Linked DNA regions of Homo sapiens: region 1 is linked to region 2. The links are contacts of gene promoters, found by promoter capture Hi-C in human tissues and cell types (Jung and others, 2019). All regions are on one chromosome and are shown on one strand. Each heading gives the region's core, a stretch centred on a gene start or on the middle of the fragment in contact. The rest is flanking DNA. Distances are from core to core; before and after follow the strand shown.

Region 1 (4,828 bases), core at 719-3,218, 200 kb after region 2:
GTGTTTTCCAGGATGTTTTGCTCTGAGCAAATGCAGGACCGTGGCGGGCCCCGTGGGGGGATCCCTGAGTGTGCAGTGTCCCTATGAGAAGGAACACAGGACCCTCAACAAATACTGGTGCAGACCACCACAGATTTTCCTATGTGACAAGATTGTGGAGACCAAAGGGTCAGCAGGAAAAAGGAACGGCCGAGTGTCCATCAGGGACAGTCCTGCAAACCTCAGCTTCACAGTGACCCTGGAGAATCTCACAGAGGAGGATGCAGGCACCTACTGGTGTGGGGTGGATACACCATGGCTCCGAGACTTTCATGATCCCGTTGTCGAGGTTGAGGTGTCCGTGTTCCCGGGTGAGCCCCTCCTTCCCTCAGCGCCTAAATAGGCTCAGGTTGGAATTGTTGGGGCAGGAATCAGATCAGAGACGTGAAGCAGACAGTGTGTGTGTGTGTGTGCGTAAGAGAGAGAGAGGTGGGGGCCAGGGGAACACAGTCAGGGGGTCTCTCCTGGAGCAGCTGACATGTCTGCCCAGTATTGAAGAAGGGAAGGGTCCAGTGACAGGGAGGCTGAGAGAGCGTTGCCTGTGAAGGAGCCAGGAGCGCACCTGTGGCTCAGCCCCAACGGAAGTGCAGCTGAGTGGGGGAGGGGTGGGGCTGAACAGAGAGGCTGGGGGGCCAGATGGGAAGCTGCTGTCCTCAGGGGGAGCCTTACCACATGACAGGTCAGATTTGCAGTGTAGACAGACTCCTCTGCAGCATGGAGTTTCGCAGGAGCACCTGGACCCTCATCAGCAGGATGGAAAATCAGGACCACTGGGAGTGGCACCCGTGTCCTGTTCAGAAATGCCCAGTTGGCCCAGGAGGGTCCTGGAGAGACTCTAGCCCCAGGGTCCTGCATCCTGCCCCCTTCCTTAGTGGGCAGTTTGTGTGAAATCAAACCAAAAAGGCATCCTGAGTGGTGGGAGAGCCAGAGGACAGCTCCCTGGGTCTGACTTGTGGTTTTGCCACCAGCATCAACGTCAATGACACCTGCAAGTATCACTGCGGCCAAGACCTCAACAATCACAACTGCATTTCCACCTGTATCATCCACTACCCTGTTTGCAGTGGGTGCCACCCACAGTGCCAGCATCCAGGAGGAAACTGAGGAGGTGGTGAACTCACAGTAAGCACCCTAGCCCCTGAGACATGGAGGGGGCCCTGTGCTAAGAGGAGGAGCCCAGGGCGGGGACCTTGGCCATGTGGGCCAGCTGGAGGTGTGCATCGCTCCCTTTGCCCCAGGCCCAGGTTGGAAGCCATAGTCTGAACACCCCGGCTTGGACCTGCCCTTGGCTTTGGAAGGGGGCTCAGGTAGGGGGGAAGTTGGGGGGCAGATGGAAGGAAAGTGATAGTTACTGACAGCTGGTAACATCCTACGAGGCCCGTGTTAGATGCTTCACATGAGTATTCTCACTTGCCTTTCACTGCAGCCCTGTACTGTTGTCATTCCGTGTATTAGTCTGTTTTCGCACCGTTGATAAAGACATACCCGAGACTGGATAAATTATAATGAGAAAGAGGTTTTAATGTACTCACAGTTCCACATGGCTGAGGAGGCCTCACAATCAAGGCAGAAGGCAAAAGGCATGTCTTACATGGCAGCAGGCAAGACAGAGAATGAGAACCAAGCAAAAGGGGTTTCCTCTTATAAAGCCATCAGACCTCGTGAGACTTATTCACTACCACAAGAACAGTATGGAGCAAACCACCCCCATGATTCAGTTATCTCCCACTGGGTCCCTCCCACAACACGTGGGAATTATATGGGAGCTACAATTCAAGATGAGATTTGGGTGGGGACCCAGCCAACCCACATCAATCCCCATTTTACAGATGAGTAAACTGAGACTCAGCGAGGTGAAGCAATTTGCCCAGTCAAGTAGCTACAAGAGGCTAAGGCTAAGCTTCCAATTCTGGTTTATGTGACTCCAGAGCCTTGAGTTCTCCTCTCTAAATAGTGGTTCTTAACCTTTTTCGGGTTCACCAACCCCACATAGAATCTGACATCTATGGACACTCTCCCCAGAAAAACACATGCAGTCACAAACCTTTTCTGGGATTCACGGACTCCCTATTCTAGCACAAAACCCCACAATTCCATCCTGGCACTATCCACCCAGAGTTAGTGCAGACCCCACAGGTGAAGAGCTTCCACATCTAAATCAGATCCCACAAGACCGCCCTGATTTAGATGCCAGTCGAACTTTGGGGATCCCCAGGCCACCACACTTCTGACCAACTGGATGCAAATTTGGGGGTTCCCAGGACCCCCCCAGGTTCAATAATTTGTTAGACTCAGAACTCTGGAAAGCATTATACTTACAATTACAGTTTTATCATAAGGATAAAGGATAAAGATTAGGACCAGCCAATGCAGAGACACATAGGACAAGGCTTGGGAGGATTCCCAAACAGTTTCTGTGCCCTCTCCAGGTGGAATCAGGGAGCATCACCTGCACCCTCCCTGCGGCACCTCAATATATTTATCAACCAGGAAGCTCCTCCAAGCTTTGGTGTCCAGAGTTTTTATTGGGGTTTCATTACATAGGCATGATGTGATTGAACTGTCTCCACCTCCAGTCCCTCTTTGGGAGGTTGGGCTGGCTCAGGGCTCCAAATCTCTAATTACGTAGTTGGTCTTTCTGGTGACCAGCCCCATCCTATTGTCTCATCTCTTACCAAAGTCCAGGTGTGATTCATGAACAACAAAGACACTCCTAATTTTTGGGACATTCCAAGGATTTAGAGCCTCCCTCCTAAGAGCTAGGGACAAAGGCCAGCCAGATTCTTTACTGGACAACATCCATAAACCCCTCCACAGGCTTCTGCCAACATATAAGACAAGGCAAAATTCAGGCTTGAACATGCCACTTCCAGAAGTTTAGCCTGTAGATACACATAGGTGGCAGCGCTGAGTTCTGTGGGGCCTGAAGGTTGTGCAGTTTGCGGGGTGGGTTGGTGGGTGGGTAATCTAAGAAAAAGATGAGAAAATTATGAATGCAAACGTAGGCATGAAGGAAAGGGCCCAAGCAATGGAGGGACCTGAAGCTGGGCTGCATCAGCCTCCTGGTCAATCTGCTGCTGCGTGGTCAGGTGTGAAAAGGTGGAGCTGCAAGGCGATTTATAAGCAACGTTTACCATTGCAAAGGACTGGGGAAATGCCCATTCAGTGGGAACATTTAAATAAATCACAGTCTATCCATGTGTTGGAATACCCTGCAGCTATAGGAAAGAGTGAGGGACTTCTTTATGTACTGACGTGGAAAGACCTCTAAGATGTATTGCTAAGTAAAACCAGAATAGTGTTAGACGAGGCCTCCTTTGTGTGAAAGAGAAAGGAGATCCCGTACATTCGTATTTGCTTGTATACACATAAAGAAACTCTGGAAGGTTCTTAAGAACAGCACGTGTGTGTATGTGGGGAAATTGGGGAATGTGTAAATGGGGGGTGTGTAGAAAGGGGGCTTTATACTGTCTATTTTTTTTAATTGACCTTATCTATCTACTTAAAAAGTTAGAGAAGGAGACCAGGTATATTGGCTCATGCCTGTCATCCCAGCATTTTGGGAGGCTGAGGCAGGAGGGTGGCTTGAGCTCAGGAGTCTGAGACCATCCTGGGCAATATAGCAAGATTGAGTCTCTACGAAAAATTTAAAAATTAGCCGTGGTGGCCTGTGCCTGTAGCTGGAGGCTGAGGCAGGAGGATCACTTGAGCCCAGGGGTTCAAGGCTGCAGTGAGCCATGATCACCACTGCACTCCAGCCTGGGTAACAGAGCCAGATCCTGTCTCAAAAAATAAAAATAAAAAATAAAAATAAAAAAGTAAGTTGGAGAAGGCAAGTTGGCCCCGCCCTTACCATCCTGTGCCTCCTCCAGGCTCCCGCTGCTCCTCTCCCTGCTGGCATTGTTGCTGCTTCTGTTGGTGGGGGCCTCCCTGCTAGCCTGGAGGATGTTTCAGAAATGGATCAAAGGTGAGTTGGCTCCCCACACCCCTCTGCCCCACCTGGGGTGGTCAGACCCTGACCACAGACGCTCATCTTCAAAGCTATGTCCACGTCCCACAGTATTGCTATGACATGTGACACCCAGACCACACATCCTAGGTGATCCTACAGGGCAGGTCCCATGGGAGGCATCCTTGTGCGTGGTGGTTACAGGCTGTGAGAGGTGGCTCCCAAGCAGGAGGCTTTCCCACTTCCAGGCCAAGGGTGGTTGCCCCATGAAGCAATGACCCTCTTCTGTTTAAAACCCTGGCATGGTGTGCTGGGTGCAGTGGTGTGCATCTGTAGTTCCAGCTACTCAGGAGGCTGAGATGGGAGGATTGCTTGATCCCAGGAATTCAAGACCAGCCTGCGCAACACAACAAGGCTCCCGTGTCTATAAGATAAAATAAACCCTTGCATGGTCTCCCCCACCATAAAAAGTCCAGGTATCTACAGGAGTCACTGCCCTCCACGATCTGGCTCTACCCACCTCCCTCTCCCCATCCGCGCACCCTGGAAACCAACTTCTTGTATCTCCTTTAATGACAGCCTCAACCTCAGCCTCTCCTCTCCTTCTGGGTTTGCTCTGGGCTGGAGGGCCTCCCCTGCCCCCTCTCCCCAGCTCACTCCCAGTGGACTCCAACAGTGGTCCTCAGACTTTCTTTTCTCTGGGACCTTTTCTTTGACTCCAAAGAGTGGCTTGGGGCCCCTCCTGGCTATACCTCTGCTGTCACAGCCTTTTGGGAACCAGACTGTCATTGCTGGTGTCCTCATCTGCCTTCCCACAGGCATGTGCTTCAAGGAGGTACA
Region 2 (4,350 bases), core at 13-2,512:
TTCCCTGCAACTCATAACCATTTTTCAAGGCCCAGTTCCAACCCCAATCCCACTTCTTGGATGACGCACTCCTCTTCTGTCCCAGTCCAAATTTCCGATGTCAGCATCTGAACTCGGGATAACCTCATTCCCCGAGCTGCCACTCATTCAGGCACCAGTAGCTCTGGACGGGGGCTGGACACGCCCCTGTGTTGTCTCTCACTTAATCCTCCCCATTATCTAATAAGCACCGCCACTGTCCTGCCACTTTGCAGATGAGGATAGCTGAGTCTTAGAAAAGGAAAGGAACTTGCCCAGGGCCATGAGATTAGTAGGTAGCCAATCTGGGATTCAAATTCATTTTTTTCTAGCCCCAAATTCCCTTGTTTTAATTTACATGATCGCAATTGCCTTAACTCCCTGAGAAACATGACTCGTTTCATTCATTCAACCATTCATTCAATGAACACAGTACATTTCGTGCCAATCACCCAGCTAAGCTGTAAAAATCCCCAGCTTTGCCGGGCGCGGTGGCTCACGCCTGTAATCCCAGCACTTTGGGAGGCCGAGGCAGGCGGATCACAAGGTCAGGAGATCGAGACCATCCTGGCTAACACGGAGAAACCCCGTCTCTACTAAAAATACAAAAAATTAGCCGGGCGTAGTGGCGGGCACCTGTAGTCCCAGCTACTCGGGAGGCTGAGGCAGGAGAATGGTGTGAACTCGGGAGGCGGAGCTTGCAGTGAGCCGAGATCGCGCCACTGCACTCTAGCCTGGGCGACAGAGCGAGACTCCGTCTCAAAAAAAAAAAAATTCCCCAGCTTCTACTCCCAAGGAGTTTCCATTCTGGTGGTGCGGGAAGATGTCTTTATTACAGAAAGTGGAGGAAGGATGGTAGCAGAGGGGAGGGCAGAGTTATAATTCCCACTGAATGGATGCGGAAACTGAAGGAAGGCAGGACAACACAGTCGGCCAAGATGGTAAGCAGAGCCCGCCATCACCACCCAGGGATCAGGGCTTCCCAAGCACTGACTATTCTTCCTTGCATTTTCTGGGTGCCTTGCTCGATGCAAATGCATACAAACGTAGGCTTGGATAAGCGCCTTGGCAACGCCCCTACAAATATTCATGATCATTATTAGTATGTTACCAACCTATTGGTTAATTCTTCTCCTAACTCAGGAGACCTCCAAAAAGAAGAGGGATGGCCTGCGCTTCCGACGTGGCAGGAAAGGAGTCACGTGCTCCGGGGTCCTTCCGCGTCGCCCCGCGCGTCCGGAGCCAGGCCGGGGTTGCCAAGCAACCGGTAAACGCCGCCGTTTGAGGAGCACCGGAGCCGCGACCGTGGATTGAACGCTTCCCCAGAGACCCAGAAGCAGAAGGAGCGGACCCAGGGTAAGGGGCGGGCGCCAGGAGGACGTCGGAGGCTAAAGACTAGAGTGGAGAGTGACAGGGAGAGACTTACAGGGTAATAACCACCAAGAGTGCCAAACATTCCTCTTGGGGGGCTTCCTTCTGGGATAGCTCTGCCAGATGGTGGCTGCCAGGACTAGCGCTCCTAGTGCCCTCTTCCCCTTAGTCCTCGCTGCCCTGGATCCGCCCCAAGTCGCAGGACCCTGCAGCCTCTGTACACCCTGCCTCATACCCTCCTACCCACTCAGGTCCTGATACAGTCCTTGTCCTGGAGTGGACTGGAGACCTCTGAAGGATTTACAGCTGAATGGATGGAAAAAAAAGAAGAAAAACAGCCTCCGGCTAGGGTGATGGGAAGATGGGCCCTTTAAGAGGAGAGCTTTCTGCTCAGGATAGAGGGATGTAAATTAACAGTATTGCACACCTGCTAGGTGGCAGGTGTTTTAAGTGCTTTCTTTCATTTCTTCCTCAACCTGGGAGCTGGCGTTCTCGTGTGATCGAGGTCATACAGTTGGTGAGTTCCTCCGGAGCGTGTGCAGTTCCTCCTTCCTGCTCAAGGTCAAGGTTTACCACATTCTCTTGAACCACAGAAGTGCGTCTTCTCCCAGCTTTCAGACCCTATGTGTTTTCCTCTCGAATCCTTGGTTTCAAATCCTTTGCTTGTTTGTCACGGTCAGCAGAGGAGGAACAGGGGAGAGAGCTGTAGAGAGAAGCCTGGTAGGCGCTGGTATCACAGTCACTAACGCAGCAGGTGACAGGAGTCTTGGGCCCCTTCTATGTGCCAGTCCCTGGGGACGGGAGTGAATAAAAGACCACAGTCTTTCCGTCAAGGAGACCACAAGGTAGTTGTGAGGGCAGGTAGTCACTGACCCCCATCGGTCTCCAATTCTGGGGACCTCTTCCCAACTCGTCCTGCCCTCAACCTTCACTTTCCTTGGGGGGCTCAGCCATGCTTAGTGCTATCCTGGGGGAAAATAAATGGGGGCTTTCTAGGGAGGTCTGCCTCTTTTGAGGGTAGAGTGAGTCCCTCAGGACCCCGGAATTCCAGAAGGTGCACAAGGACATAAGAAAGAGAAAGAAAGCTGGGTGCGGTTTTCACACCTGTAATCCCAGTGCTTTGAGAGGCCCAGGAGGATGGATCACTTGAGGTCAGGAGTTTGAGACCAGCCTGCCCAACATGGTGAAACCCCATCTTTACTAAAAATACAAAAATTCTGGCCGGGTGCAGTGGCTCACGCCTGTAGTCCCAGCTACTCGGCAGGTGGAGGCAGAAGAATTGCTTAAACCTGGGAGGTGGAGGTTGCAGTGAGCTGAGATCAGGCCACTGCACTCCAGCCTAGGTGACAGACTGAGACTCCGTCTCAAAAAAAAAAAAAATTAGCCGAGTGTGGTGGCATGCACCAGTAGTCTCAGCTACTCAGGAGACTGAGGCACAAGAATCGCTTGAACTTGGGAGGCAGAGGTTGGAGTGAGCCAATATCACACCACTGCACTCCAGCCTGGGTGACAGAGCAACACTGTCCCAAAAGCAACAACAACAAAGAAAGAGGGAAGGAAGTCCTCTCCTGCCAGGTGCCATGCAGGGCCCACCACTCGCAGGAACCCAGTAGGGGCTGTACCAGGGACCAAGAAGAAGAGGAAAATGTTCTCATCTCCTTATTCCACTAGGGAGTTCAATGTGGAGGGCTGACCTTCCAGCTTGCCTCCTTCCCAGTCTCCCACGCTGACACTCCTCCTCCCCATCACTCCCTTGGCCTTCCTCCCAGCTTGGAAAACACACTTTCCCTTAAGCCACCGGAGGTTCTCTCCAGGAATTACTTTGCTCATTCTCACTGCACAAGACGAGTTTTGTTTTTATAGTGAGTGAAGGTTCCCATCTGACTGCCTCCCCGGGGATGCGGGAGACGCCTGAATCTTTGATGTCTGGACCACAGCGTCCCTGATTCTGCGTGTTCCTGTGTTTGAGACTCACAGTGGTGTTCTTCACGCCTCTGGGACTCTAGGTTCCCACGGGGGGAGGATCTCCCCCCAAAACTCCAGAGGGCAGTGACACTGCTCCCGTCCCCGCTCTGTCACCCCATGCAGACACTCCTGCTCAGGCCTTGCTTGGGGAAGCCCACCCTCTAGCACTAGTCTCACAAGAGGTTGGGGGAGACCTCCTGAGACGCCCTTTGCTGACCTTGCTATTCATCTGTGTGCCCTGCTAGCTTGTGAGAAGAGCTTGCTCTGGGTCCTTGAATGGGTTGTCTTCCCGTCACCAGGCCAGTCTTTAAATGTCCCCTCTGTCTGCCTCCAGACACAAGACAATGCCTCTGTTCTCACTCGGGGCTTGGCCTTGGGAAACACCAAGAAGGAAAGCAAAGCTGTTAAAAATCTGATCTGGGCTAAAGAGGCTATTTCTGTCTTCCTGGAGTTTCCTCATTCTCTTCAATCTCCTTGTGTCCCCTAGGAGCCAGCTGGCTTGCAGCAATTTCTTTTAAAAGTCAGAGACAGGCAGCCCTAATTGCCTGAGTCCTGCAGCCCCATGTGGGAGGCACAGTTGCTTCACACTGTGTTGGCAAAGGGGAGGATGCCACGGGATTTGCATGCTTTTTCACAAGGCCGTAGCTTTGTCCATGTGGTAAAAACACACTGGGGCACCCCGCTACAATCTGGGCTTCTCATCCCACCCTGTGCCCTCTAAGCCATTGCTCCCACCCAGGAAAGAGAATTTCCAAACTACAAGAAAGAGAAGAAAACAAGGCTGGGTGCGGTGGCTCATGCCTGTAATCCCAGCACTTTGGGAGGCCGAGGTGGGCGGATCACTTGAGATCAGGAGTTCAAGAACAGCCTGGCCAACATGCTGAAACCCTGTCTCTACTAAAAATACAAAAATTAGCCGCGAATGGTGGCATGTGCCTGTAATCCCAGCTACGGGAGGCTGAGGCAGGAGAATCGCTTGCACCCGGGAGACGGAGT

Evidence for each region. The method cuts DNA at HindIII sites, captures the fragments that hold promoters and counts their contacts. A contact is called where the count stands out against the background at its distance.
Region 1: a fragment that was not itself captured here is called in contact with the fragment with the promoter of DNAI2 in region 2 in 2 of the 25 tissues and cell types used here (liver and pancreas).

Annotation. Positions count from the first base shown.
Region 1 is chr17:74,473,525-74,478,352 of GRCh38, forward strand. It overlaps CD300A (CD300a molecule), which reads left to right. Exons shown (of 7, transcript NM_007261.4): 2 at 12-350; 3 at 1,008-1,161; 4 at 3,912-4,006. Among named protein-coding and RNA genes, the nearest start is that of CD300A, 9.3 kb to the left of the region's middle. The HindIII fragment of the contact is 3,703 bases long and covers 118-3,820 here.
Region 2 is chr17:74,272,972-74,277,321 of GRCh38, forward strand. It overlaps DNAI2 (dynein axonemal intermediate chain 2), which reads left to right and starts at 1,263. Exons shown (of 14, transcript NM_023036.6): 1 at 1,263-1,374. The HindIII fragment of the contact is 25,570 bases long and covers 1-4,350 here.